6 separate regions of the Homo sapiens genome follow, and regions 1, 2, 3, 4 and 6 are each linked to region 5. Evidence: promoter capture Hi-C in 16 types of primary human blood cells and fetal thymus (Javierre and others, 2016). All regions are on one chromosome and are shown on one strand. The core of a region is centred on a gene start or on the middle of the fragment in contact, and the rest is flanking DNA. Distances in the headings are between cores, read along the strand shown.

The links. Contacts are between HindIII fragments. The CHiCAGO score rates a contact against its expected background, and 5 or more counts as called.
Region 1: a fragment that was not itself captured here is called in contact with the fragment with the promoter of NKX2-2 in region 5 in 1 of 17 cell types (neutrophils); the score reaches 6.1 in neutrophils.
Region 2: a fragment that was not itself captured here is called in contact with the fragment with the promoter of NKX2-2 in region 5 in 10 of 17 cell types (M0 macrophages, megakaryocytes, erythroblasts and 7 more); the score reaches 9.5 in M0 macrophages.
Region 3: a contact is called between a fragment that was not itself captured here and the fragment with the promoter of NKX2-2 in region 5, in 13 of 17 cell types (neutrophils, monocytes, M0 macrophages and 10 more). The highest score is 8.5, in neutrophils.
Region 4: a contact is called between a fragment that was not itself captured here and the fragment with the promoter of NKX2-2 in region 5, in 1 of 17 cell types (M1 macrophages). The highest score is 5.0, in M1 macrophages.
Region 6: a contact is called between a fragment that was not itself captured here and the fragment with the promoter of NKX2-2 in region 5, in 2 of 17 cell types (activated CD4 T cells and naive CD4 T cells). The highest score is 7.9, in activated CD4 T cells.

What each region holds. Positions count from the first base shown.
Region 1 is chr20:21,072,436-21,076,210 of GRCh38, reverse strand. No RefSeq gene overlaps it. Among named protein-coding and RNA genes, the nearest start is that of LINC00237, 32 kb to the left of the region's middle. The HindIII fragment of the contact is 2,250 bases long and covers 904-3,153 here.
Region 2 is chr20:21,248,602-21,252,562 of GRCh38, reverse strand. No RefSeq gene overlaps it. Among named protein-coding and RNA genes, the nearest start is that of KIZ-AS1, 32 kb to the right of the region's middle. The HindIII fragment of the contact is 168 bases long and covers 2,355-2,522 here.
Region 3 is chr20:21,211,051-21,214,729 of GRCh38, reverse strand. It overlaps KIZ (kizuna centrosomal protein), which reads right to left. Exons shown (of 13, transcript NM_018474.6): 8 at 30-195. It overlaps KIZ-AS1 (KIZ antisense RNA 1), which reads left to right. Exons shown (of 8, transcript NR_109956.1): 2 at 708-819; 3 at 1,138-1,194. Among named protein-coding and RNA genes, the nearest start is that of KIZ-AS1, 5.4 kb to the left of the region's middle. The HindIII fragment of the contact is 1,909 bases long and covers 296-2,204 here.
Region 4 is chr20:21,185,885-21,189,707 of GRCh38, reverse strand. The region is part of intron 6 of KIZ (kizuna centrosomal protein); the gene reads right to left. Among named protein-coding and RNA genes, the nearest start is that of KIZ-AS1, 30 kb to the left of the region's middle. RefSeq lists an enhancer at 1-185. The HindIII fragment of the contact is 1,442 bases long and covers 1,667-3,108 here.
Region 5 is chr20:21,511,686-21,515,814 of GRCh38, reverse strand. It overlaps NKX2-2 (NK2 homeobox 2), which reads left to right and starts at 1,751. Exons shown (of 2, transcript NM_002509.4): 1 at 1,751-2,404; 2 at 3,330-4,129. The coding sequence starts at 2,146. The coding sequence ends at 3,892. RefSeq lists an enhancer at 1-54. The HindIII fragment of the contact is 7,883 bases long and covers 1-4,129 here.
Region 6 is chr20:21,123,718-21,127,751 of GRCh38, reverse strand. KIZ (kizuna centrosomal protein) reads right to left here and starts at 1,670. Exons shown (of 13, transcript NM_018474.6): 1 at 1,548-1,670. The coding sequence starts at 1,636. RefSeq lists enhancers at 1,152-1,201, 2,102-2,201 and a silencer at 1,362-1,941. The HindIII fragment of the contact is 481 bases long and covers 2,094-2,574 here.

The sequences.
Region 1 (3,775 bases), core at 779-3,278, 440 kb after region 5:
ATGTTCATGTAGTCAAGCCCGTTGTCAGTCTTCCAGCAAGAACGTCTTGGGTTAGAATATTTGTAGTTTGTAAACATTCTGCTGTTGTAGGCTGATTTGTGTTCTCCCAAAATTCATAGGTCAAAGCCCAAGTCCCAGTACCTCGGAGTGTGACTGTATTTGGAAATAGCTCCTTTAAAGAGGTAATTAAGGCCAGGCGCAGTGGCTCAGACCTGTAGTCCCAGCACTTTGTGAGACCAAGGCGGGCGGATCGCTTGAAGCCAGGAGTTCGAGACCTGCCAGGCCAACAAGGCAAAACCCTGTCTCTACTAAAAATATAAAAATCAGCTGGGCATGGTGGCATGTGCCTGTAATCCCAGCTTCTCAGGAGGCTGAGGCAGGAGAACCGCTTGAACCTGGGAGGCAGAGATTGCAGTGAGCCGAGATTGCGCCATTGCACTCCAGCCTGGGCGACAGAGCAAAATCCTGTCTCAGAAATAAATAAATAAATAGGTAATTAAGATAAAGTGAGTCATATGGGTGAGCCCTAATTCAATCTGACTATATCCTGATAAGAAAAGGAAACCCACACACACAGAGAGACATCAGGGATGCCTTCGCACAGAGAAAAAGCCATGTGGAGACGCAGCAAGAAGACAGCCACCTGCAAGCCAAGGAGAGAGGAGGCCTCAGGAGAAGCCAAACTTGCCTCTGACTTTCAGCCTGTGGATTGTGAGAAATAAACTTCTATTGTTTAGGCCATCCAAACTGTGATATTTTATTACGGCAGCACTGGCAAACTAATATAGTGGCCCAACATACAGAGGGTTAAATAAAATTCAGATAATCTCTCTACCATTTCAGAGGTGTTTCTCCTATTTAGTCACCAGCTATATATTTAAATGTCCCACAATTCTTAAAGCTTGGCTCTCTGAAAACCGATTTAAGAAAAATACAAATCCACAGTTATTTTTTTTTTAAACTGGACTTGTGTGCAAGTTATTTATTGGCTGAGTGGCCAAGATGTTGCGTGCAGTTTCCATTCAGAAGGTGAGGAGTGAGTGAGTCATACCAGAAAACCACAAACACAGTGCTCATGTTCAAAATGAAGTGTCTGTGCCCATCAAGCGGAGCCTCTTGCCTTTGTCCATCACAGGCATCGAGCCTCTTCATGGTCGCCAAAGTTCGTTAATAACGTTTGTGTCTATGCTAATACAATCAGAAAATTATGCAGACCGTCTATTTCTTCCCAGAGAGAACAGGGTGATCAGCCATTAGTGATTCACACTGATGAGCCTCCACTAATTGCACAGAATGTAATTAGTGATTATATAATATTTGAGCTCTTGCAACTGTCATTAATGTCCACGATTCACCAGAGATGGGCCCTGCTGAATGGAGTATGATTGCCACATGCGAAATCTAGTTAATCCGAGGCATGTTAATCAGCACAGGATGCTCTTTAGGCAGTGGTTAAAAGCACTGGTGACCTCAGGAAAAAAACCCTTGCCATCCACCGAAGTCTGAATTGCATACAATACAGATCCCTTTCACAAGGGAAATTTAATAATTAAATGGCCTGGAAAACTTGAGGGCAGAGTTATCAGATGGTTTTAACACATTTAGATTTTTCTGTAACAGATATGGTGATCAAAATGTTGTATTGGTGCTGGCATTAATTTATGATACATTAGACTACTGGCTCAGGGTATATGATGTGTCAAAGTTATGATGGACTTGTCATGTGGATAAGGAGAACTGGATTAAAAAGTAGTTCTTTCTAAGAGGAAAGATGATTATATATAATTGTCCAGAGACCTATTAGATAGAGCATAGTTTTCAAGGTTCATTTCATGGAAAAAAGTTTTAGAAGTAATAACGTTCCAAGGTATTCTGCTTCCTGTAATAAAAGTTGGGTTCTAAAATGGATTCACATAATCATACATTTCACCATGTTCTGAGTCACAGTACATTTTAAAAACATTTGTAGCAGATGCTACAAATTATATATATTTTTTGAGACAAGGTCTCACTCTGTCACCTAGGCTGGAGTACAGTGGTGCAATCATGGCTCACTGCAGCCTTGCCCTCCTGGGCTCAAGCAATTCTCCCATCTCAGCCTCCCAAGTTGCTGGGACTACAGTGACGACAGGTGCATGCCACCACCTCAGCTAATTATTTGTTTGTTCGTTTTGTAGAAATGGGGTCCCACTATGTTGCCCAGTTGGTCTTGAACTCCTGGGTTCAAGTGATCTTACCGCCTTGGCCTCTCGAAGTGCTGGGATTACAGGTGTGAGCCGCTGCACCTGGCACCTTCCCTTCTTATCCTCCATCCTACCCAGCCCCTGTCATCATAAGAGACGGTAACCAGCTGCCGGGACTTCCGGCAGCCTCTTTATATGTGTGGCAAGCCCTGAGTAGTTCTCTCCTAGATATGTGGTTTTTACCCGTAAATTTATGTGAATTAAAATCTTTTACAATAACCATAATTTGTGTTTTAAGTGACAGTACATATAAACGGCTGTTTCCAATGCGGAATTGTACACGTTTACAAATTTCCGAGGCCTGAGTAATTTAATATGGTCCAGTTTTTCATAAAATAATATGGTTGTTGTAGATTCTAAGGGAAATAGCAGCTTGTGATTTATGTGATTTCCTCCTGTTTATGTATTTTATATAAATAGTAAATACATGGGCATCTTTGTTTCTTAAGGTGCTTTCTAGTGGTTGTTTAAGCAGCTCAAAGTCCTTTAGGTCTTGTTTGCCAGACACTGAGGAAAGTTCTGCTAAATAATAGGGGCCAACCAAGGTGGCTCACATTGGTAATCCCAGCACTTTGGGGGGCAGAGGCAGGAGAATTGCTTGAGGCAAACAGTTCAAGACCAGCCTGGGCAACATAGTGAGACCCGGTTTCTACAAAAAGTAAAAATAAAAATTAGCTGGGTATGGTGGTGTGCGCCTGTAGTCCTAGCTATTTGGGGAGGCTGAAGCATGAGGATGGCTTGAGCCCAGGAATCTGAGAATGCAGTGAGCTGTGATTTCTCTACTTCACTCCAGCCAGGCCACAGAGTGAGACCCTGTCTCTAAGCAACAACAACAACAACAACAACACAATAGTAATAATGACAGGAACTTGTGTGGCCACTTACTCTATGCCAGGCACTAAGCCAAGCTTTCTGCTATAAGAACTAGTGTCATCTCCAGTTATAGATGAGGAAAATGTGGCTTAAAACAACAGGCAGATCACTTGAGGTGAGGAGTTCGAGACCAGCATGGCCAACACGGTGAAATCCCGCTTCTGCTAAAAATACAAAAATTAGCCGGGTGTGGTGGCGGGCGCTTGTAATCCCAGCTACTTGGGAGGCTGAGGCAGGAGAATTGCTTGAACTCGTGAGGCAGAGGTTGCAGTGAGCCAAGATTGTGCCACTGCACTCCAGCCTGGGCGACGAAGTGAGACTCAGTCTGAAAAAACAAAACAAAACAAAACAAAACAAAACAAAACAAAACAAAACAGTTAACTGATGTCCTGCCTATGATGTCATGATCTATACATGGTAGACAAGCGTCTGCATAGAGGTGCCTTGCTTTAAAGCCCATCACTGTTCTAAGGCTGAAAATGGAAGACATTAGAGAACTTCCTTCAAATTCCTGATTCTCCTTCATTTGCTCAGACTGAGTTAGGAGCCAGGACACTGCAACAGACAAGGTTATGTCAGCCAGGGCATTCCCATACATATTAGCTCCCCAAAGCCATTGCCTGCATCTCTCTGTCCACAGTCTGCCTTTAGGGTTCTTC
Region 2 (3,961 bases), core at 1,189-3,688, 260 kb after region 5:
ACACACGAGCCACTGTGCCTGGCCACTTCTGTACATTTTAAACCAGAGCCATTTGAGATAAATAGAAAGTAACTAAAAAGAAAAAAGAAAGGTTAAATTGTAGCTGGAAAATTTTGCTTGCTACTAGTGTGGGGTCCTAGGCCTACTCTATTGCTACAAAGTAAGAAAATGGTTAGCAAAGTTTTAAAGACTAGCAGCAAACCTAGGCTTTCTTCTGGACTATCATCAGTGCAGCATGTGATCTGTAGGTAAAAGATGTTAAGATGTAGGACTCTGTATACCCCATCAGCATTGCTGACAAATAGCAAGTTAGTGCCCTGGTTGAAGGCCTGTTTTGTTTTCTTAGTGGGTATCAATCTTTTAAGCCTGGTAACATTGAGATTAAAAATAGAAACGTTTAAGAGAATGAAAAAGCATATGTGCACAGAAAAAGTGTGAAAGGGTATCACCCAAGTGTCAATAACATTTATTGATGGAGGTTAGTTTATGTGGAATAATTTTAGATTTGTTGCAAAGATAATGCAGAGTTCTTATATACCCCTAGCCCAGTTTCAGTTGCCCTTAATATTATCATCTTACATTGCTGTGGCACATTTGTCAAAACTAAGAAACCAACATGGTACATTAATATTAAACTCCAGACTTTACTCACATTTCACCAGATTTTCCGTGAATGTCCTTTTTTTGGTTCGAGGATCCCACCAGGGCCCCACAATGCATTTTAGTTGTCATGTCTCTTTCTCCTCTGGTCTGTGAAAGTTTCTTAGTCTTTCCTTGGTTTTCATGACACTGTCTGTTTTGAGGAGTAATGGCTGGGTGTTTTGTCAAATGTCCCAAGGTTATCTGATATTTTTCATGATTAAGCTGTGGTTAAGATTTTTCAGAAAGAACACTATAGAGGAGAAGTGCCCGTCTCCCGGCAGCATGTCAGGGTTCCAGATATCCACACGAGTCATGACTCATGGGTGTTAACCTTCATCACGTAAGGTGGTGTCAGGCAGGTTTCTCCACTGTACCATTACTATTTCCCCCTTTCCATCTCTATTCTGTGGAAGTGAGTCACTAAGTCCAGCCCACATTAGAAATGGGGGGAGGAGGGAGAATTCAGTTCTACCTCTTGGGTCAGATGGTTGGAGGAACCCAGTTCATTTGCTACTTTCCAGTGGAGATACATACAAATACCCAGGGAAATGCTCCAGATGCTGTGCCTGCTTTCCAGAAACCACAGAGGGCTTCCCCGCAGGCTGTGGTTTCTGGAGGTTTTCCTGTCAACAGACTCCCGTTTATTGACTACCACAGCTCAGTTCTAAAAATGTCCCCCAATCCCTGCCCCAAGGTGTGCAACTTGTTCCTCACCTTCTGCAACTGTAATTGTTACCACTTCATTTAGAAATAGTCTAACCACAGATACTTGAGGTTCTTAACTGGAAAAAGGAAAAAATATGTTCTTTATTCAGAATCAAATTTTCTTTAAAAAAATCTCAAAGGTGTAATGTTTATTCAGTGAGCATTTAGGAAACCTTGCAAGTCTCACCACTCCAAAATTAAATTACACGTGGCCTAATCAGAATATACATAAATAGCTGGGCGTGGTGGCTCATGCCTGTAATTCCAGCATTTTGGGACGCAGAGGCGGGCAGATCACTTGAGGTCAGGAGTTCGAGAATAGCTTGGCCAACATGGTGAAACCCTCTCTACTAAAAATATATAAATTAGGCATGGTGGCGCATGCCTGTGATCCCAGCTACTCGGGAGGCTGAGGCGGGAGAATCACTTGGGAGGTGGAGGTTGCAGTGAGCTGAGACCCTGCCACTGCACTCCAGCCTGGGCCACTGAGTGAGACTCTGTCTCAAAAAAAAAAAAAAAAAAAAAAGAGTATACGTAAATGGAAGAATAGTATATTGGTCAGGATAGACCAGAATTTTCCTGTGGTAACAACCTGCCAATTCCAGTGGTGCAAACATGATTAGCAGGGGAGGTCTGCTCTTCCTAGTCACTGATGCAGCCAGGCTGATGGAGGCTCCACTTGTCCCATGCTGCCATGGCTGCTGATGCAGGAAAGAGGAGAGAATCACACATAGCACTAAAGCTTCTAACCAAAAGTGGCATTGGTTACTTGTGTTCACATTGCATTGGCCAATGCAAGCCACATTTTTCCATTTAACTTCAATCCTTGCCAGGCACGCTTCTCTTTGTCTTCTTAGTGTCTACTGACAAGTTAGTATCTATATTGCTCTTCACTTAGCTGCCATATTTATGTATCACTTTTGACCAAGTTTTCTAAAATGAGAAGTTTTGATGAATAATGTCCTTTTTGACTCTAAAATTCAAAGACCATGTGATCTCTAAAAGCTTTTCCAGTCCTAAAATAGCGTGATTCTAAATCTTTCCATCGTGTGCTTTGAGCCATAAAGTACCCCCTTTATTTATGTGGAGAATTACCATTAGAGTCAACTCCCATTATTTAATAATTGTGGATAGGGAAGAGAGAATATAGAAAAATAACGCTGTAGTATAAAGCTTAAAAGTTTTAAAAACCAAAGAATGAAATATTTTATTAGAACAACTAAGCCAGAACAACATAATGAAGAAAAACAAAAAACAAAACAAAACAAACAACAACAACAAAAAACCAAACAGCCAACATTCCTTGCCTCCCATCAAATGGATAAAAACATGGATTTCAGAGTTGGATTTATTTCCTCATAGTAGATAGCTGTCTTTCTAGAACAGTGATTCCCACAGGAATCACTAAAAATGCAGATTCCTAGTCTCTACATCAGCTTTGAGTTGGTTTCTATGCTGAGCAAGCAAAGTGTCTGGGTTATAATAGGGTGCTCAATAAATAGCAGCTATTTTATTATTAGCAAATTAATAATACCCAAGTTATACCTTTTTAAGAAGAAAGAAAAAGGAAACCCATGGCAGGATTTTTCTTAGTTGCCAAGGGCAATATCAAGACACCTGCTGCAGAAACTCAGGTGTGAAGGCTCAGATGGGGATGGTGATGATGGCAGGGAAGAGATAGGAAAGGCCTTGGTAATTTGAGTGGAAAGAAGGGAGAATAAAGGAGTGAATCAAAGACATCTCCCAAGTTCTTGAGTAGGTAAGTGACAAGCAGGAGGTGATTTAAAAACAAAATACACACAATGCTTTAAAAATCATTTCAATTTCAGAGATTCTGAGGGCTCAAAGGAAGCCAGAGTAGTCACATGACCCACCATGAGTCCCAGGCTCCTGAGTTGCACAATTAACTTCTGACATTGACTAAAGTGACCATTTAAAAGTGAGAAAGTGTTGCACCAAGAGTTGCCTGTAGTCACTACACCCCAAGATGTATGAATTACCAATTTCCTTTTTCTAAACAGTATTGACATGTAATTTACAGAGCATATAATTCACCTATTTAAAGTGTACACTTCAATGGTTTTCAGTGTATCCACAGAATTATACAATCATCAGCACAATGAATTTTAGGACATTTTCATTATCCCTGCCAAAATCCCTCATATCAGTAGTCACTCCTCTCCCGACCCCAGGCCTAGACAACTACTCATTTGTCTATGGATTTTCCTGTCCTAGACACTGCACAGAAATGAATCTGACATTATGTGGTCTTTTGTGAGTGACTTCTTTCACTTAGAATAATGTTTTCAAGGTTCACCCATGTTGTAGCATGGATTAGTACTCCATGCCTTTTTATTGAGGAATGATATTCTACTGTATGGATATTCTGTTTATCCATTTATAAGTGATGGACATTTGGGTTGTTTCTACTCTTTGGCTCTTATGAATAATTCTTCTATAAATATTCCTGTACAAGTTTTTGTGTGGATATGTTTTTGTTTCTCTTGGAGTAGAATCATTAGGTCATAATCCCTCTATGTTTAACCTTTTCAGGAACTACTAGAGTGTTTATCAAAGCTGCTGCACCATTTCACATCCCTGCCAGCGATTTCTC
Region 3 (3,679 bases), core at 1-2,500, 300 kb after region 5:
CTGTGGACACACACTTTAACAATAGTTACCTTGTTCCCTTGTAGGAACACTGTTGAGCCATACAGCAGGTTTGGCTTCCTTTATTCCACTATTGTCATTCAGAATAGATGGCAAGCTGCAAGATGATTCACTACTGTGAATAGCTGACCTACGGCCACACTCTTCTGTAAGGGCTTTTCTCAATAATGCTGTTGCCTACAGTGTTTCAAAAAAAGCACAAAGAAATAAAAACAAACTGTAGCCACATTCCTCTTGGTCTCAAAGATAGCCTTCAAATATAATTTTAAGTTAAGCTTTACTTAGGATTTAATCTGTTTCCCACATTTAAATGAAATTAAAATGTCAAGAAAAAAAACACCTGGTTATTTTCTACTATAATCTAATTCTTTACAAGTTACCCTCACAATAATACACTTTTTGAGGGCTGAATCTTATGTAATGCAGAAATATTCTTCTGCTTGTTAAGTATGTATATGAAACGTGACCACCTCTGTTAATCTGGGCAGGTTTATCCTCCCTTCGATATATACAAAAGGTAGAGCCTCAGACCTCCTTTCTGAAGGAAAAATTTATTCTTTGATTACATGAATCCTATTTTCTAGGCATGTCAGACAGAATTACTTTCAACTGAGAAAAAGATCCGGAAAGATGTGACCTTGCCATATCCCCACCCTCCTAAAAATGACCCATGAATTTCCCCTAAACAGGAAGATTGCAGAAAAATTTGTGGCTGAAGAGGATGCACTGAGAAGAAAGATAACTGCCCTTATTCTAAATCCCAATCTTCAATCAAGTACTAAGATGGTCTGCACTTTGCCTGTAAGTCGTCTGGGGATCTGGGGAAACTCACCCACCACACTGCCTATCTTTTTTCAAAGGCATTGTCTTACTTAAATGCCTCATGTGTCCTGAGCAAGGAGGAGGACACAGGTTTTTATCAGAGCCAACCTTAGAGGTGGAGAAAAAGGGGCAATTCACAGGACTGGGGTTAGTAGCCAAGTCTTTTGATTTTCAGGTCAGTACTTTCCCCTAAGAAATACAAATATGCTGGTAATAAGAGTTAAACTTTTAGTAGATAACCATTGGTCACATTATCCCGCTGCCAGAGTGTATGTTTCTCTCATTTCCTATTGACAGGTGGCGATTTCCTTAGGTAGCTGGAGAGGAAACCTCGGTGGTGGTGGTGACCCACAGGTAGCTGACAATGACAGTAAATACTGGGTAGTGTTCAACCCAATTGTGGGAAAATGCACATGACAGTTTAAAATTAATATAAAGAGCAGAAGTGGACAAATGTTCACAGGTCATCATTAGCCAAGAGTGAAGTGTTAACAATGTAACTATCCAGTGAACAAGGTGGAAAAAACAACCTTCCTTGTGATTAACATGAAACAAGGTGAAGACACTCCGACAGGGAGAGTCAGAGCATGGAAGGTCCGGTCGGAAGGCCCGGACGGAAGGCCCGGTAAGAAGGCCCGGACAGAAGGTCTGGATGGAAGGTCTGGTCTTGCATGTTTGGCATTTCAGACGCTTCAAGGCAACTGCCTTTAGTCCTGACTTCCCTGCAGAGTTCTTGCCTTCTTCCCTCCCTAGTACTGGCTGACCTGGACCCATGGCCTACCTGAGGAGCTGGAGTAGCTGATTGGGGGATTTAAGGAGTTCTAGTCCCCTTGGCCAAAGAACTTGGTGTCAAGTTAGCCTTGCAGCCAGGACCTTTCTGTGGTGCAGTTCTAGTGACCAGGGGCTTTTCCTCTATTTCTAGAAACTAGTCCCTAGATTTCACTCCACTGTGATAACTCTGTTGGGATGACTTGCTCAGTATTCCCATTTCTGCAGTCTAGGGGTAGGGTCCTGCCCTTGAAGGCCAGGCCAAGGCTGGTTCCCATCACTGCCCCCATCCCAACTGCCTACACAGACCACTGCACTGCACCTGCTTCTGGAATCTACTACAAACACCTTTCTAATGAGTCCTTGTAGGCTTGACAAGAATACTGCCATTGCCAACAGTTCTGCACTGAGCCCTCTTTTCCACGGTGAGGTAAATAATGTGGTGGGCATACTGCACTGCTAGTTCAATTTACTTTGTACACAGACGCTCCTTCAATTTATGAAGGGAGTTACATCCAATAAACCCACAAATTGAAAAAATTGTAAGTCAGAAATGTATTTAACACACCTAACCTACTGAACATCATAGTTAAGCTTTGCCTACCTTAAACTGCTCAGAACACTTACATTAGCTTACAAATGAGTAAAATCATTTAACACTAAGCCTATTTTATAATAAAATGTTGATTTTCACATGTAATTTATTGGATACTGTACTACTTGTAGTATGGTTTCCACTGAATGCCTAACACTTTCACACCACTGTAAAATCAAAAAATTGTAAGTTGAACCATTGTAAGTTGGAAGTCAGGGACTATCTGTATTTTATCCCATTTATCTTCACTACTCAATACTTATCTCCAGGATTTCTGTTACTTTTTTGATAGAAATGTTTATAAAAGAACACATCTTTTAAGATAATTCCACAGATAATTTCTCAAAGATGATAAGCAGGGACGAAGACAAAAGTTAGTCTCAGACAAGGATAGACAAGAACAGGTCACAGATTTCTAGTCAAAAACAACTTCTTTTTGAGACAGAGTCTCTCTCTCTTGCCCAAGCTGGAGTGCAGTGGCGGGATCTTGGCTCATTGTAACCTCCACCTCCCAGGTTCAAGTGATTCTCATGCCTCAGCCTCCCAAGTAGCTGGGATTACAGGCGTGTGTCACCAAACCAGGCTAATTTTTGTATTTTTAGTAGAGACGGGGTTTCACCATGTTGGCCAGGCTGGTCTCGAACTCCTGTCCTCACGTGATCTGCGTTCCTGGGCCTCCCAAAGTGCCGGGATTATAGGCGTGAGCCACTGTGCCTTGCAAAAACAACTTCTGCAGTCAGGAAAACGTCTGTAACACATTCTCAAGATGTACTGTTTGCAGATGTTCCAGAAAAGTGTATTTCTAAGGAAACCTCCAATCTGAAGGAGTTTGCAGTCTGAGACTGATGACACTAACACAGAGAGAAGCTCAGAGAACAGTTAACAGGTTGCTTTATTACATCTCATGCTGGGACTAAATGGGTTCTGCAAATTGGAGCTAATTCTCTGAAAAAAATGCCATTAGACAACAATTTTACCACAGGCTTTCTGATAGTGCTTATGATTGAACTATGCTTGGGTTTCAACTTACCTGTTATTAATAAAGGCTCTCTTTTCGGAGGCCAGAAGAGAAAACTAGAGATTGTTCCATTGGTCTCAGCAGTCTGAAGGCTAAGTCAGTACGAACAAACCACCCCCTCACTTTTCAGCCTCCCCAGGAGCCAGGAGAAAGGACTTGGAAATTAAATGCCAGGGCACAAACTATTTGTGGAATGACTGATGTTGACACCTCCATATTTCAGACATTATGGCAGATAAATCGTTCTATGAGTTACACCTACAGTACTATTCCTTTATTAGCCCAGTTCTACTAGAATTTTCCTCCATGTTCAGTTTAAATATTAATCTTGCTCTATCTAGAACCCCAAGAATCATCTAAGCTGACTCTTAAATTATATCCAAAAACTTACGGTTGTGATATTCAAATGTATAAACAGACAGATGTAAGACATTAATAGAAAAGACATTGTATCCAAA
Region 4 (3,823 bases), core at 1,138-3,637, 330 kb after region 5:
ACATTTGGTAGGGCACCATCCGTCTGTACTAAGGTCCTCTTCATTGTAGCACAGGCTGCACAAGCAAAACCCTTGCCTTTTCCCCACTTTGGCCTCTGAATAGACCTCATCATTCTGTTCCATTTTAATTTTCAGAACGAACCCTCTCCCATATGACTTTTTAAAAAAGTTTCTTAATGAAGAGCTGGAAGGCTTGGGAGAATTTTTAATAGGTATTTCCATCCACCCTTAAAGAGAGAACCCATCACGCATTTGTTCCTCCACCCTTAAACCGCCTGAACCAATCACCCATTTTTAATAGCCAAGGATCATTTGTAATGGTGGCAGACATCCTTTATGAAATGAATAGCATTCTCTCTTTGGTAATTCTATGGATCCCAAACTTAACCCCTTTAACCGAATAGGGGTTCTGTTTTTTTCAGGTTGAAAAAATCCTCCTGACTGGACAGGTAAAGATTGGGAAAATTTACTCTTGCTTCCCTGGGTTTCTTCCAAATCAGCAGCCATAGAAGGGTGAAGTCATTAGGGTGCTGGCTGAGTTCTCCAACTGAGATGCATAAACAGCATGCAGGATGGTGGCTCATACCTCTAATCCCAGCACTTTGGGAAGCCAATGTGGGAGGACTGCTTGAACCTAGGAGTTTGAGACCAGCCTGGGCAACATAGCAAGACTCCGTCTCTTAAAATAAAATACAAAACAGGCTGGGCGGGGTGGCTCACACCTGTAATCCCAGCACTTTGGGAGGCCGAGGCAGGTGGATCATGAGGTCAGGAGATCGAGACCATCCTGGCTGACACGGTGAAACCCCGTCTCTACCAAAAAAACACACACACACAAAAATTAGCTGGGCGTGGTGGCAGGCGCCTGTAGTCTCAGCTACTTGGGAGGCTGAGGCAGGAGAATGGCGTGAACCCAGGAGGCAGAGCTTGCAGTGAGCCCAGATCGTGCCACTGCACTCCAGCCTGGGTGACAGGGCAAGACTCCGTCTCAAAAATAAATAAATAAATAAATAAATAAATAAATAAATAAAATAAAATGCAAAACAGATCTCCAGGGCTTATTATGGAGCCAGCTACCTAAAGTGACCGCTTTAAATATCTACTAAAAAAAAAAAATGTGGAGGGTGTAGGGTCAGAAGGGGTGATCCCTTTCCTCCTCATCATAAGGGTCACAGTCAACACCCTTATAACAAACAGGTTAACAGAAGAAAACAAAACAAATTTTATTTGATCATTGTTTTCTGTGACATGGCAGCCTTCAGATTGAAGACCTAAGGATATTGGGAAAACTTTCCATTTTTATGCTGAAGTTCAGTGAAGAACAGACAACCATGTAGAACTGTGCTTGGCCAAGAAGGTAAGTATGATTGAATGCTAACAGACTGAGTGGGGAAACTCTGCCAGGCCTGTCTGTTCATTCTTCTTGGCGTCTCTGTGCAGTGTTCCTTCCTCCCTGGTATGGGGCAGGACCCTTTCTGAAATGGGGAGTCTTACGACTCACAATCAAACAGGGTAGGTTAGAGAATTTCTTTACGGCCAACTCTGCCACAGAAATACAGGAGGGAAATTCGAGTAATATTTTTAGGTTTTATGGCTGGCTTTGGGGAAAATGGGTTCAGGTTTTTATGATTCACTTTGAGGAAAAGGAATTCTAGTTTCTAAAGCTTACCTCTGAGAAAATGAGGCTGAGGTACAGGAGAGTGGGAGAAGATCAGAGAGAAACTTACTTCTGGGGCCTTCCCTTTGGGGTGTCATTTTCTGAGGCCCAACGAGGGTAAATGTCTTATTATCATACAACTTTATGCCTTCCCCAAATTTAATACAATTAGGCTCTGTATTTTCAAAAAGTTTTAAAATACTACAAACATATCATAAAGAATTTACTAGACATTATAATCAGTTCTATCATTAAACTCTAGAGGTTAAATGATGATGATGAAAAGGTATCTGGTGTTGTCAAGGTAGAATTATCTTTGTGAGGATTAACGGCTGACGCAGGACCATAAAACAAAACATCAGACTCTGCTGTGTTGTTCCATGTCTGTCTGTCTGTTTCTATCCATATATACACGTGTGTTTAAGAGAGGAGACGAGGAGGCTCAGACTGGGCTGGTGAGGGTTACACTAGGTGAGCGGATTCAGGGAGAAGGGAAACAAGAAGGCATGATGGCACGGTGGATAGGCTTACTGAATTTCGGCTCAGGCAATGCTGAGACCCTGAAATAAGCTGCCATGTCACTTCTCTAGGATAAGTGAGTCTCCACAGAGGCCAATTTAGTCTGATGAATGGGAATGGGTCTAGTACAGAGTTATCCTCCACTGAGGGGGCACTCAGATGAGTAGGGCAGGTCCCATCCTGGGTTCTGACTTTGCTCGGGGTCTACTTCCATGATAACAGTGAAATGCCTGGCTTATGAATATCATGCCTCCTGCTCCCTGAGCATGGTAGACACCAAATATAGGATGGCTGAAAGGATTGGGCTGGTTTGCTGTTGAACCCTTAGAGGATCAATATAGGTTGAGTATCCTTTATCTGAAATGGTTGGGAATTTGGATTTTGAATTTTTTCAGATTTTGAATTGTGTTTTTTTTTAATTTTTATTTTTTGATTTTGGAATATAAGTATCCCAAATCTGAAATGCTCCAATAAACATTCATCATGTTGGCACTCAAAAAGTTTCAGATTTTGGAGCATTTCGGACTTTGGATTTGGGGATTTGGGATGCTCAACCTGCCCTGTATTAAACTGAAGATGCTGAATCAATTTATTATTCAAGTGCTTGTTTGTCTAAGAAGCTGCTAAGAGGAAGCCAAAGACAAAAAGAAGAAATAAGAAAAATGAAAGTGGACAAGAACAAGTATTATGAATGGATAAATGGATTAAGTGTGGAAGAAGGGAAGGCGGGATGTAAGCAAGAAAACAACAAAAGCTAACTGGCTCTCCTAGGACAGCCTGTTAGATTTGAGTTTGTTTTCTTTACTGTAGTGATTCTCAGATATATTTTAGTAGAATTATTCTACATTTGAGTAAAGTGGTCTTTTCTAAGTTCTTAGGAAAATTACTCTTTATAATTTTGAGAACCTTCCCAAAATTGGTTTACTAAAGCTTTGGCATCTGCTATCTAGTTTGCCTACTAGAAGATAATAAAATGAATGAGAGTACCGAATGAAAAATAATGGAAAGTATGGAAGTAGCTGGGAACCAGATGCAATGACCTCTTTTGTCAGTGTCAGAGTTTAGGGGATGTCAGACAAGTCCCAATTCCGGGTAAGTGGACTTTTCGAAACGGAAGAAACGGATTCCAAGTGTACTCATGATTACAGATGCCAGTCATGCTCCTAAAACAACCATGCCCAGTCCAGTCCATCACATGGACATCATATGTCCATGTGATGTGTGACACAGCTGATCAGTAAGGATAATCAGTCTCATGACCAGAAATTCTTTTAGGGATTTGGCTATCCTGGAAAGCAGTGCTTTTCAACGTTTAAGGTGGCAGAACACCTGAAATTCACAAAAATTTTTGCCATGAAGTATTGATATATTCCATTTATCACATAAATTAGAACATTTTTTACTAGTAAACAATAAATATATGTACACAATATAAAAATCAAACCATTAACACATACGTCCATGATTTAAGAATCTGTCGAGATCAGCAACTTCCATACTTTCCATTATTTTTCATTTGGTACTCTCATTCATTTTATTATCTTCTAGTAGGCAAACTATATAGCAGGTGCCCAAGTTTTAGTAAACCAATTTTGAGACGGTTCTCAAAATTCAAAGATTAATTTTCCTATGAACTTAGAATGTAGA
Region 5 (4,129 bases), core at 502-3,001:
CGGCGGCGTCCGCTGCAGCTGCGCGCGAGGAGGACCCGGTGCCCGCGCGCTCAGCTTGGCCCGCGCGGAGGAGCCCAGGTTGTGGGAAGACTAGACCTGGACCCCGCAGGGGTGGCCTTCTGTGCCCCTCCCCGCCCCCAGACAAAGCTCCTTCCTGACACTCCTCTGGGGCGAACGAGCATCAGGTAGCCAATCTACACCCCTGCACCCCCCCCCCAAAAAAGTTTTAACTAGAAGAAGGGGTGGCAAATGCGGCGTGGTCTTTTCCAACCCCAGCGCCGAGGAGGAAGTGCAAGTCCCGGGAAAGTTCAGTTCCCAGAGCCGAGAGTGGCTGGAAACTTCACACTAACCTGACTTAACCTGGAAACGTGGAGCGCGTACTCCGAACGCACCCAAGGCGTCCAAAAAGAGACCACACTAAAGAACTCGCGTGGGAGAAGAAAACTGGGGAGAAAACGAGGCATCGTCGGGCCACCCAGCGACCCCCCTCCCCCGCAGCTTTCTGGGTCTTCACCCAGGCTGGAGACACAACCCCCACCCCCACCCCCGCAATCCCGCCCCGCCGCCTTCCCGCTGCTCCACCTCTAGCCAGAGGCTGGAGAGGGAGGGGGCCGGAGAGGGAGGGATAATAGAGGGCAGGAAAGAGCAGGGCCGTCTGCCCTTTCCTCCACCCGGGGAAAGAGGCCCGCAGAGCCCAGAGGCAGCAGGGCCAGGGTCCGACCCCAGACGAAGTTGGAGCTCCTCACTCTTACCCCGCCCTCCCCGGGACCGCCCGCAAAGCAGAAAGTGAACTGCGCGTCCTCCTTGGCCGCAGAGAGGTGGAGGCGGGGGGTTGGGGGTGGGAGGTGGGGGGAGGCGGAGTGAAGGAAATAAATGAGTCTTTAGCAAATAAAGGGCGGCTGGAAGGGGGCGGGTCGCTTGGTGGTGGCTCTGGCCGGCCCGGAGCGGAGCTCTCTCCTGGGTTTTGGGCTCTCTCGCGGTTAACTGGAATCAATTACTTGCCTTGTCATTTCTAGCACTCATCCTTAAGCCTCAACCAAAATATTGACCTAGGAGGCTTACAGAAGTTGGGCTCTTGCCATTTGAACCGGATCTTGTTTAGGCAACCACCAACGATGGAAAGGAGAGATTTCCGCAGCTCGGCCTTCGCCCCCTCCCCCTTTTCCAAAGGCGCCACAAATCGCCAATTTTCCGGCTTGCCGGGGGTGGGCGCGCGGGGGCGGGGAGGTAGGAACCGGTGAATGTTAAAGAGGATTTTTTCCCTCCTCCTGGTTTCTGTTTTGTTTTCTCCCCTCCTCCTCCCCACCCCCACCTTTTTTAAGATGCAATTTGTTAAAACGGCCCTTTCAAGTGTGTGGACTCGCGAGCGACGCGGTGGCCCTTTGTATGTAAATACTGGGTTTAAAAAAAAAAAGGCTCGCCCCGTCTTTGCAATTAATTGACACGTTACACCTCTCATCTTGCTCTAGAGGGCCGTTGGCTGGGAGCGCGGAGCTCCCCAAAACCCACAATTTCACATCTGCAAATACTGTCTTCATCCACTTGACTCCCAAGACCCGCCCACACGTGGCCAACCTTTGCGTTTTTAATGTCTCTTCCCCCTTTTTTCCACCCTTCTCCCGCTCCCTCTCTCGCTCCCCCTCCCTCCCTCTTTCTTTCCCTCCCTCCCTCTCTTTCTCCCCCTCTCCCCGCCTCCCCAGGTTCGTGAGTGGAGCCCAGCCTTATATGGACTGATCGCTCGGGCAATGGCCCATTTTTTCCTCGCCACCAGCCGCCACCGCGCGCCGAGCGGCCGCCGGAGCCCGAGCTGACGCCGCCTTGGCACCCCTCCTGGAGTTAGAAACTAAGGCCGGGGCCCGCGGCGCTCGGCGCGCAGGCCGCCCGGCTTCCTGCGTCCATTTCCGCGTGCTTTCAAAGAAGACAGAGAGAGGCACTGGGTTGGGCTTCATTTTTTTCCTCCCCATCCCCAGTTTCTTTCTCTTTTTAAAAATAATAATTATCCCAATAATTAAAGCCAATTCCCCCCTCCCCTCCCCCAGTCCCTCCCCCCAACTCCCCCCTCCCCCGCCCGCCGGGGCAGGGGAGCGCCACGAATTGACCAAGTGAAGCTACAACTTTGCGACATAAATTTTGGGGTCTCGAACCATGTCGCTGACCAACACAAAGACGGGGTTTTCGGTCAAGGACATCTTAGACCTGCCGGACACCAACGATGAGGAGGGCTCTGTGGCCGAAGGTCCGGAGGAAGAGAACGAGGGGCCCGAGCCAGCCAAGAGGGCCGGGCCGCTGGGGCAGGGCGCCCTGGACGCGGTGCAGAGCCTGCCCCTGAAGAACCCCTTCTACGACAGCAGCGACAACCCGTACACGCGCTGGCTGGCCAGCACCGAGGGCCTTCAGTACTCCCGTAAGTAGCAAAACTTGGCTGCCGAGGCCGTGGTCCCCTCCATTCCTGCAGCCGCAGCCCGGGTTGGACGCTGGGAGTGAAAGGGGAAGGGGCCATGTAAGCCCGGACCCCCTCACTCGGATCCGTAGAAAGATTTTTAACACCTGTATAGGATGTCCTCTGCCCTCCTCTTCAAGCCTCCTTAGTTCCGGGAAAGAACTTGGTCTCCAAAATTTTTTTCAATGCGAGAAGTTAAGGAGAAAGAGGGAGAAGGGCTATACCTCCCAGGGGCTGGTATATGATGTCAACCCGGACCGATGGCTCCAGCCGCAGCCCCCGGACTCCGGCCGCTGGGAGGGACTGGCCTGGCGCCCTGGAGGTAGCCAGCGAGCCTCGTCCGGGTACGGGTGGAGGGTGGGGAGGCTTCGGGTGGCCCGGGTATAAATAGCTCACCCTGCCCCCTGCGCGATCATAGAGGACGCTTTGTGCAGTGCAGGGGGTGTCTAGAAGGCCCGAAAGCAGAAACGAAAGCCCCCAAAAACCTGCCTTAAATGGCCGAGCCGATCAATGCTGGGATTGTGGGGTATTTCTTTTAAAAATCTGCCCACGTCTCGCCGGAGAGGAAACCGCTTAAGGGCGCCGGAGCCCTTAACCCGCGATGATCTTCAGTGCCACTTCCCCCCCCAAATTCTCACCCACACTATGTGAGCCCCTTGAAAGGCGAGCCCCTAGCCCCCACTCCTACGGATTTCCCTCTTTACCCTGGGAGGTCCCGACGTCTTCGTCAGGCGTAGAGGAAGGCAGGGGTCATGGCAAAGGCAGCGGGGCTGGGCTGCCAGGCGCGGAGGTCCAGGGTCGCACGGAGGATCCAGGGTGCTCCGAGTCTGGTGCAGGCTGCGCGCGGCCTCCAGACGCCTGACGCGCTTCTCTCTCCCCCTCCCCCCAGTGCACGGTCTGGCTGCCGGGGCGCCCCCTCAGGACTCAAGCTCCAAGTCCCCGGAGCCCTCGGCCGACGAGTCACCGGACAATGACAAGGAGACCCCGGGCGGCGGGGGGGACGCCGGCAAGAAGCGAAAGCGGCGAGTGCTTTTCTCCAAGGCGCAGACCTACGAGCTGGAGCGGCGCTTTCGGCAGCAGCGGTACCTGTCGGCGCCCGAGCGCGAACACCTGGCCAGCCTCATCCGCCTCACGCCCACGCAGGTCAAGATCTGGTTCCAGAACCACCGCTACAAGATGAAGCGCGCCCGGGCCGAGAAAGGTATGGAGGTGACGCCCCTGCCCTCGCCGCGCCGGGTGGCCGTGCCCGTCTTGGTCAGGGACGGCAAACCATGTCACGCGCTCAAAGCCCAGGACCTGGCAGCCGCCACCTTCCAGGCGGGCATTCCCTTTTCTGCCTACAGCGCGCAGTCGCTGCAGCACATGCAGTACAACGCCCAGTACAGCTCGGCCAGCACCCCCCAGTACCCGACAGCACACCCCCTGGTCCAGGCCCAGCAGTGGACTTGGTGAGCGCCGCCCCAACGAGACTCGCGGCCCCAGGCCCAGGCCCCACCCCGGCGGCGGTGGCGGCGAGGAGGCCTCGGTCCTTATGGTGGTTATTATTATTATTATAATTATTATTATGGAGTCGAGTTGACTCTCGGCTCCACTAGGGAGGCGCCGGGAGGTTGCCTGCGTCTCCTTGGAGTGGCAGATTCCACCCACCCAGCTCTGCCCATGCCTCTCCTTCTGAACCTTGGGAGAGGG
Region 6 (4,034 bases), core at 1,085-3,584, 390 kb after region 5:
TTTGATATTTCTACTGCAGCCTTTTCTGTATCTAGAATTATTTGCCTCTATAACTGTGTCCAGTGTGCATTAATTTGAGTTAGTTATAAATTCTTAAAATGAAAAATGAACACACACAGCAACAGATTTGTACTGACTTAAAAATAAAACAAATCTCGAAATGCAGAACCGTGAACAGGCTATAAAATTTGATTCACATTCCTTATATATTTTCAACAGCCTCACCTTGTTTAATAATTAAATAAGTGTTAATCATAAAGTACATAATTATTATACAGTTATTGTGCCATAAGGACTATAAACAGCCAGGTGTTCCTAGCACAGGAAACAAAAATAACTTACAATTAATAGTTCAAAAAGAATGCCATTTATGAGTGCTGTAAGAATGCCAAGAGTCACAAAAGTTAGGGAATGGGTTGAAACAGGGAAGGCTCTACAGGAAGAGATTTCTTTTTAAAGTCAGAAATTAAGAGGTCACTGATATGGGTGAGCGGTGACATGTCAGAAAGAAAATAGGACGTAGAAAAGGAGTACAAGGTAAAAAAAATGCTAACGACAATTAAGGAAGCCTGTTGTAGATGCTCTATAAATATCTGACAAGAATTAAATCTAGCGTAAGATAAATGTAATTCCTTTTCAAAATCGCTCACTTCTGCCTTTATTTTCCATGTAATTATTGTTATCATTTTAGCACTGTCACGCACACAGCTCTCCTGTTCACTAGAATGATTTTGTAACTTTTAACACTCATTAAATGTTTTGTTTATCAAGAGATCCAAAAATGTATTTCCTTTCTTGTCAACTAATGAGAGTTACAACTCCAATTAACTTAGCAGCTAAATAAGAGGTCCAGCAATTTATCTTTTACGTGGTTATTCATAGTACATTGCGGTATAATTTTCTCTCTATATGCACTCTTAGATCTAGCTGTTTTCAGTGGTTCCCATCTTTCATATCTTAATCAAAGGCATCATGAACCCTCTGGAAGCTGGACTTCTCTAGCTGGAAATTTCATCCCTTCGCTGGAAATCTAGCCAGCCCTCGCTACCCCTAAAAGTCTCCTGAGTTTAAACGGGGGCACATGTTTGACACACACACACACAACCGTCTGCGTTCCAGGACTTGTCATCATTGATGCAGTGCAGCTGTCACGGCGGGATGGCAATTTGAAGAGAGTGGGGAGGGGGCGTGTAAAAGGGGACAAGAGAAACTCACAAGGCTTGATGGAGAGTGACAGGCAGAAGAACTCCCACCTTCACTTCTGGGCAAATTCTGTGACGCGGCCGCATCCTCAAACCGTAGACCAGGCTTTAGCTGCTATTGACGGGGCGGGGGCGGTCTCTCACCTCTCTCCGCTCCCACCCCCAATACAGGGGGTGGCTCTAGTAAACACTGTCCTCCAGGCCCCACTGGGAGCCTGGGGGGCGTTGCGCGCGGGCCTGGGCCCCGGGGAACCTCGGACGGGGGAGCGGGAAGGAAAATGGGGCAGGGCACGCGGAAGACCCCCGGCGCGGGCCGACTCCCCACCCCCGCCCCAGTGCCCTTACCTGTCCCGCAGCCCGTGCTGGAGTTGGCCCAGCCTCTCGTAGTAGTCGGGACTCGACAGGGGCACGGCCGATGCGAGGGTCCGGCTCATGCTGCTGCCGCTGCGCCAGCTCAGCACAGCCTCTGGGTGGCCGTTCGGCCGGGGTTGCCGAAGGAGACCGCCCCACCATGCACCGCGGGTAAACACCGCGCCGGGCCGCCTGCAGGAGGCGGGGCAAGACGCCGTGGGGGCGGGGCGCCGCTGAGGGACGGGGCGGAAGCCGGCTTTGTGGGGGGCGGGACGAAGACCTGCATGGGGCGGGGAAGAGGCGTGGCAGAGGCGGGGCGTCGTGAGGCCGGGGCGGACCACGTCGGAGGGGCGGGCGCTCGGTGCCCTCTCCTCTCTCCCTTGACGCGGTGTCTCCTTTCCCCTCACCTTCCAGGATTCGCACAAGCTACGTTAATGTTACAAGGCGCATTCCCTCCCTTTCTTTCGTCTCTCGCTTGCTTCTTTTCCTCGATCTCCTTTCTTGCCAGGATTTGTTGAGTGCCAGGCACTGTACTAAGCTTGTTCTATTATATCAGCACTCAAAAGCGACACAAAACACCAAGTAAAAAAAGACAAACCCTCAAATGCTAAACAGCCGTGCTCAGCCCCGACAGTGGACCAACCCCTTACTCGAAAATCCGTGCTGAATCTAAGGATTGTTCCAGGTGCCAGTATCGTTGGCGAGAGGGAAAAGTTGATAACTAGTTGCTTGGGAAGCAGACGTTTGTGCAGACAGCTCTAAGGGACAATGCTCCTAATGTCCTGTAGGATCCTCTAGCAGGAGCCCGGGAGCCAGACTGCCTGGGTGTACATTCCCTATCCACGTCCCAGCTGCCAAGCCGTGTGCAAGTCACCCCAGGTTTCCTCATATGTAAAGTGGGAGGCTGTTAACACAGGATTAGTTTAGGATTCGATTGTTAATATGTGTTAGTGTTTATAAGTGGGCCCAGCACATAGAAAGCATCAGGTTTTATTATCATCACCAACGTCGGGAAAAAGCTTCCTGAAGGAAGCCAACCATATTTCAAAACCCACTGGGCAGAAAAATTAAGCCTTAGCCTGCTTCTCTGCCTTCCTTTCCTTTTTTTTTTTTTTTTTTTTGAGACAGAGTCTCACTCTGTTGCCCAGGCTGGAGTGCAGTGGCGTGATCTCGGCTCACTGCAAGCTCTGCCTCCCGGGTTCAAAAGATTCTCGTGCCTCAGCCTCCTGAATAACTGGGATTACAGGTGTGCGCTACCACACCCAGATAATTTTTGTTTTTTTTGGTATTTTTTATATTTTAAGGAGAGACGGGGTTTCACCATGTTGGCCAGGCTGGTCTTGAACTCCCAACCTCAGGTGATCCACCCACCTTGGCCTCCCAAAGTGTTAGGATTACTTGCATGAGCCACCATGCCCGGCCTGTAGAGTTTCTTTAGTCTCTTATTGTTCACTTCTTTTGGTTTCTTTCCTATGCCATTAATTTTACTTACACATACAAGGTGCAAGGTGTGACAAACTAAAATTGTAAGAGAGATGGAACACTCAAAGGCCAACAACACAAAACTATGATTTTACTCAGCCTTCCATTCACATTTGCCAGTTCCAGGGCAAGAGTGTGAATGGAGGCCCTCATACCATCCGCCTAAATATTGAATTATAATTCAAGATAACAAACTTAGGTAAAATACGTGTTCTCCTCTCCACTTTGACCAATATGCCTTCTTAAGAACCTGGACAACCAGGGTGGAATTTAGTTTGCCTGCTTCTCCAGCTCCCCCCAACTCCATTTCCCACCCCAGGCTCAGTCTTGCTTTGTGAGGGGGTCTCATACACTAGCAGGGATGTGTGTGCCCTGCCTCTTCTCCTCCTCTTCTCCAGCCAGCAAGTCCCAACTCTGCCTACATCCCCACCTCAGCCTCCTCTTGGCCGGGCAGTGAGCATGCCAGTGATGGTCACCCTTGCAGGAAAGACCCAGCCAAGAGGCCTTTTAAAGCCTTAGAAAGCAGCTTGGGCCCCTTTGAGCAGGGAAGGTAAGGGTGTTGGGTACTTAGAACGTGTTCTAGAAGAGCATGTGTGTGTATGTGTGTGAGCACCCCAGGTGGGCCTGTCATCTGGCCCTGGGACCTCCTTGCCTTGCGTGGAGCAGCATGGGCAGAGAAGGGCTAGAACAGAACCTCTAATACACAGAAGCCAGGGCAGAGGCCTTCTTGCCCTGGTCCAAGGGTAGCACTGATGTGACTTTTATTTAGTTTTTATTCAGATTATATCCAATTGATTCAGTGGTAATGTGCAAAGGTTTATTTTAATGAGTTTAGTGTAACTAACATTTTACTACAACCCTGGCAAAGAAAAGAAAAGCATTAAATTTTTAGGATATTTTATTTAGGACCATGCCCCCAGGGTTAGTTTTTTTTTTTAAGAAAAAGAATCCCCAAACAATTAATATAACTAATTTTAGCAAGTAGCACAGAGTAAGCAG